Regions from separate parts of the Homo sapiens genome. Here region 1 is linked to region 2. Evidence: promoter capture Hi-C in human tissues and cell types (Jung and others, 2019). All regions are on one chromosome and are shown on one strand. The core of a region is centred on a gene start or on the middle of the fragment in contact, and the rest is flanking DNA. Distances in the headings are between cores, read along the strand shown. Region 1 has its middle 18 kb from the start of OAF. Region 2 holds the start of USP2 (ubiquitin specific peptidase 2).

The links. Contacts are between HindIII fragments. The study calls those that stand out against the background at their distance.
Region 1: a contact is called between a fragment that was not itself captured here and the fragment with the promoter of USP2 in region 2, in 1 of the 25 tissues and cell types used here (dorsolateral prefrontal cortex).

What each region holds. Positions count from the first base shown.
Region 1 is chr11:120,191,300-120,194,283 of GRCh38, forward strand. No RefSeq gene overlaps it. Among named protein-coding and RNA genes, the nearest start is that of OAF, 18 kb to the right of the region's middle. The HindIII fragment of the contact is 5,099 bases long and covers 1-2,984 here.
Region 2 is chr11:119,380,139-119,382,962 of GRCh38, forward strand. It overlaps USP2 (ubiquitin specific peptidase 2), which reads right to left and starts at 1,552. Exons shown (of 13, transcript NM_004205.5): 1 at 1,335-1,552. USP2-AS1 (USP2 antisense RNA 1) reads left to right here and starts at 1,640. Exons shown (of 4, transcript NR_034160.1): 1 at 1,640-1,770. RefSeq lists an enhancer at 630-1,619. The HindIII fragment of the contact is 18,363 bases long and covers 1-2,824 here.

The DNA.
Region 1 (2,984 bases), core at 385-2,884, 810 kb after region 2:
GATTGCTAAGGTCCTGTCGAGCTCTGCATTTGTTCCCTGGAGCCTCCCTAATTTCCAGACTCTAAAGTTCTGAATTCTCCCTGCTGTCCCATCTTACTCTCAACCAAGGGGAGACCAGGGAGGAGGAAACTGGGCTCCCCCTGAACACACTGGCTGTCTGGCAGCTGAGAATGGCCTCAAGCAGGGAGAGAGGATGGGGCTTCCCAAGTGCTAGGGAGAGCAAAGGACCCAACTTGTGCTTACAACTGCTCCCTCTATGAACAGGCAAGAGATGGAGGCTGGGGGGCGGGGCCCAACCAGGGGGGCTGATTTGAACCCTGACTCCTCCTACTGCGTGTTTATTATTCTATCTTCATTTTCATTCATTTATGTGCTTGTGCAGCAAACATTTGTAGGGCCACTATTCTGTGCCAGGCACTGTCCTGGGTGTCGGGAATACAGACATGAGGACGTTCACAGCCTCGTGGGAGACGACAAGAGATGTAAACAGATGGTTCGCACATAGAGTGAGAAGCAGGGGGACAGGAGCTCTCCTGAGTACTGCATCCTGACTACTGGGTGCCACAGAGCACAAAGGAGGGTCCGCACCCAGCCAAGGGGGCCTCTCTCTCCTTAAACATCACAGTCAGCTTGCTGAGATGATGGGAAATACAGGAATCGCTTGGTGCCCAACAGCTTAAGGGGTGGTAAAGAAAAAACATCCAAGAGAAAGGTTCCTGGGTGGGATAATTAATGTTTTGACGAGGAGGAAAATATTAGTGTGTGTTGCTCAGCATGCAAACACCTCAACTAACAAAACGGCTCGGAGAAAACAAGTGGAACGGTGGGGTTTTTCTCACAAAGATTTTTTTTTTTTTTTTGAAAAAAAAGAAGAGAAGAGAAAAAGATGGCAGTCACAAATAACCTCCCGCAGCTGAAAGACATTCCCCACCGGGTGAGGAAAGCAGGGCCCAGCTCAGTAGAGAATCTTGCTGCTGCTCCTTCCTGCAGATGGCCGACCTGGCACTTAGACCCAGAGCCCCAGCTCCTGACCCACGCTGCCATTTCAAGGCACTCCTCCCAGTTGCTGAGGCAAGGGGGAGTTCTGCACACACCAGTTGAGCATTTTAAGGAAAAAGAGATGGCCGGGCACGGTGGCTCATGCCTGTAATCCCAGCACTTTGGGAGGCCGAGACGAGAGGATCACGAGGTCAGGAGATCGAGACCATCCTGGCTAACACGGTGTAAACCTCGTCTCTACTAAAAATGCAAAAAAATTAGCCGGACGTGGTGGCGGGCGCCTATAGTCCCAGCTACTCCGGAGGCTGAGGCAGGAGAATGGTGTGAACCCGGGAGGTGGAGCTTGCAGTTAGCCGAGATCGCGCCACTGCATTCCAGCCTGGGCGACAGAGCAAGACTCTGTCTCAGAAAAAAAGAAAAAAAAGGAAAAAGAGATTTTCCTGATTTGCTAGGGTGCATTCGGTGGTGCCACGTCTAGACAGCTGCCTCCTACCCCAAAGAGTATCTTCTCAGGGAAGGTTACATTGTCTCCGGCTCCTGTACTCAGTGGAAGGGCCAGCTTCCTCTGAGGAGATAAAAGGGTTACTTTTGTTTCTACTTCTGTAAACTGTAAATATGTGCTCAGAATCTCCAGGTGACAGGACAAGCCCCAATGCTCCACTTTTGGAATTGATGCCAAAGCTTGACGGAGCTGCCAATTCATGCAAGAAAGTCCACCGGCACCAGACGGGGTGCTCTTGGCTTGTTTCCAGACCTGCTGCCCTTCCCCAGCTGTAGTTCCGGGGGCATTGCCCCTCAGGGGAGGACTGGTACCAGGCGCCCCTCTGCAAATGGACACACCAACGGTAGAACTGGCTTGGGCCCTCCAGAGACAAAGTTCAGGAAAGATCCTCCTCCCATGATCGGCTCCAGAGTGCTCCAGGGCTGGGGCCTGAGGGAGGAGCTACGAGGCCGGCTTGCGGCTGTGGCAGCATGCTGCTGACCTTGAACTCACCTTGACTACCACCAGAGCGGCCCCAGAGGCAGGCAGGGGCCAGTCCTCCGCTGTGTTGGGACCAGAGGGAGCACACAGAGCCAGAGAAGTCCAGAGTCCTCACCCTTCACTGGGACAGGATGGGACCTGGGTCTTGCCAACCAGCTTGGGCAAAGGTAAACCTTCTTTGTGTGCCCCAGGGAGGCTCAGAGCCAGCAGTCCCCACTGTATGGGGCCTGTGCGGGGAGAGGGTTCAGATGTGCCTCACGGCTGCTGCTGGCCGATCCCAAGGTCTTCTTCCACCAGAGGCACCTCTGCCTCCTTGGCCAGCAAAGGTTGCCACATGTGGCCACCCTTCCCTGCTTCCTGCCTCCCCCCATTTGCACCCCAGGTGTGAACACTCTTCTCATGGGTGTTTACATGCCTACTCGAACACCACAGGCAAGTCCTTGGCCAGCCAGCTCCTTTCCACCCTAGACCCCACAGGTCAGGGTCAGGGACTCCCCACCTTTTATACAGTGGGGAGAGAGTAGAACCTGTGCTCTCAAAGTCAGAGTGGGCCTGCACTAGAATCCCAGCTTTGCCAGATACCATTTGGTCTTGACAACTTCTTTAACATTTTCTGAACAGTAACATAGCAAAAATGCTTAGTTCACAGATGTGTTGTATTAGATGAGACCATCTTTCTTTAAAAAAAAAAAAAAAAAGAAGCATCCCATTGAAGTTAGCTCCCTTCTCCTCCCATATTAAGTCAGGTTCCTAGCAAAGAGACTCTGAGAGCTTTGCATCATTTATTGGAATGCTGTGGGGATGAACCCCTGTAGGGGAAGTGGAGAGAACAGGCTTGGGTTGGGGGAAACATTGGACGTTGGATGTTGGCTGTGAAGTTGCAACCAAGGCCTTTGCCAACCCCATGGGGACTCTGGGGCTCTGCAGAGATATCCCACATTAAGGCAAGAGGGCCAGGCCTTTGTAATCCTCACCAACATGTCATTGGGTGCAAGGCGTCACT
Region 2 (2,824 bases), core at 302-2,801:
TTTCCTGACCTTGTGATCCGCCCGCCTTGGCCTCCCAAAGTGCTGGGATTACTGCACTTTGAGCCACTGCTCCCGGCCGGAAGTGTGCCTTTCTAATGCCAGAGAACAGTCCCTTGGTTTTCTGAACTGACCATGTCCCATAACTGGGAAGGGCAAACAAGGCTTGCCATCTTCCTAGACGTCCAGTCCACCAAGCAGAGAAAGGCCAAGCCCATCTGGGCTCCTTCCCCCTTTGCCTAGAAAAATACGGCAAGTGCAGCTTCCCCCAGGCCACCAGGAGAATGCTTGGCCCCTCTGGGGTGGTTCCACTCTACCTGTGGGAGGGCTCAGGATTCCAGGGCCACAGAGCCGGGCTGGGCAGGGTCACAAGAGGAAGGAACGGGGTTCTTAGCCTCTCTGGCCTTGGTGCACTTGTCTGCTCCCAGGACGTTTCTCGATGGCTCTCCCCGAGGACTGGGAGTACCCAGCCTGGTGCCTCCACCCTGTCTTAGCACAGGCTACTGACTCAGCCCAGGTCCTAATGATGCACTTCAGAGGACGCCCTCATTCCAGTCCTCATTCTGACTCCAGTCTGACATGCATCTACAGCATCAAAGGAGGGGGCCTGCCTCGACCTTAGCCCAATCAGCTCTCCTTTCCTCTGCTTTACGGGGGTCCATCTGGGGGATGTTCTCATGCCCATTCCAGGGGAGGTGAGCAGCCCCTACCACTACCTCCAGCTCAGTCCCATTCTAAAGGCAGCCAGGTCAGGAGGTAGGATGTTCACTCTTCAGGGAAGGGCTAGAATGGGTTGGCTAGGGCTTCCCTTGACTGTTGAGAAGTTGCTCTCTCCGGAGCACCGCGTGCCTGCTTCTGGTTTGGGACTGGTGAGAATTTCAAAGCTGCCTCTTTCTGGTTTGGGATTGGTGGAAAATCTCCCCTTCCGCTTAATTGTTGCCCAACCCCCGCCCCTAACCCCCTTTAGCAAACTGACCGGGGAGCTTTAAGAGCAGCGAGTGAGCTGCACGCACACGTGGGGAGGGGGTTTGTCAGTGTCGCTCAGGCCACATACCACCGATATACACGGGGCACAGCGAGGAGGACCCGCCAAAGCAGCATTTCCTTAGAATACACTGATCAGCACACAGTTGGCTCTTCCTGGCACCCTGGGCTGTCAGCAGGCAGCCCTCACACAACTGGCAGACACAGCTGGAGCGTCCCTGCACAGCCGGCTCTCTCCCTATATTTCTAGTGTCCACTCTGCCCAGAATGTCGTGGACACCTTACTTTCTGAGCTCCAAACCGGCACTGATCCCCGAATCCCCCCTCCCGGATCCCCGACAGGTGGCACGTACCTGCCTCTTCTTGGAGTATGGACGAGTCGAACCGGGCACAAGCATGGAGCTGCGGGTGAGTCCCGGCTGGCGCTGGCGCGGCGCAGTGAGCACCAGCTGACGAAGAGGGCTCCCCGGCCTCGGCTCCTGCCTGACTCTCTCCCACCTCCGCCGGGGGCCCAGAAGGGACCTCCCCGGGAAATCGGCGCCACCCAGCGGGCAGCCGCCTCATCGCGCCTGGGCCGGCAGAGCCACACCCCGCGTCTCGCGTCACTGAGTCGCGTCACGGCTATTGGCTTGTTCCTACTGTGGCGTCATTAGAGCCCGGCCTCCGGCTGGGGCCACCCAGGCAACCGATATACACAGAGAACCACGTGGAGGAAAAGCACGCGAGTTTGGAGCGGGTGGAGCAGGAACAGAGGTGGACTGGAATGTCACACGACGGGGCAGCTGGAAGGTATTGGGAAAGAAGAGGCGTCATGGGAGAAGGCTCGGAACTTGAGCCCTGGGGCGTATCAACTTTCAGTTTTTAGGGAAGGCTAAACGTCCCCCACTCCCCTTCTCACTGGGCTGGGGGAGGTCCTGTTCCTCAGCCTCTTCTCTTTTTCTCTGCTGTCAAAGACACTCTCCGCTCATTTTACTTTCATGGGACCAGTGATTAGTGATGAATGCCTGAGTGGGTAAACGGAGGCACTGAGTCAATGAAAGAATTCTCTTTGGTCTTTTCAAGAAAAAGCCGAGACAAAACTTGAATTTTTGCTGCTCCCATTCCTTTTATGTAACCTTCTCCCGACTCCCCCGATGTTGATGAGGAAAATCGCACAACCAGGTAGCTGGGTACCAAGGCGAATCCAGGTTTTCAACTTCAGCTGCTCCATCAACCCTTGCAGCTGCCGTTAACTCCTCCCATCTTCACCATAGATCTCTCTCTCCATCGCTACTCTCCTCAAGTCCTTCCTTCTCTTCTATTTCCCAGAGAAATCAGACGCAATCAAGAGGGGAATTCTTAAATTTCTACCTACAAACATGTCTGAATCCATTCTTATCAGGAGCAGTGAAAGAGGCACCCCTGTTCTTGTCCAAGGCACGATTCCCTTCTTGATTTCAACTCTTGTTTTGTTTTTGTTTTTGTTTTTTGTTTTTTTGAGACGGAGTGTCGTCGCTCTTGTTGCCAAGGCTGGAGTGCAATGGCGCGATCTCAGCTCACTGCAACCTCCAGGTTCAAGCAATTCTGCCTCAGCCTCCCAAGTAGCTGGGATTACAGGCGTGCGCCACCACGCCAGGCCGATTTTTTTTTTATAGAGTCTTGCTCTGTTGTCCAGGCTGGAGTGCAATGGCATAATCTCGGCTCACTGCAACCTCCTCCTCCCGGGTTCAAGTGATTCTTGTGCCTCAGCCTCCCCCGAGTAGCTGGGATTACAGGAGCCCACCACCACGCCTGGCTAATTTTTGAATTTTTAGTAGAGACAGGGTTTCACCGTGTTGGTCAGGCTGGTCTTGAACTCCTGACC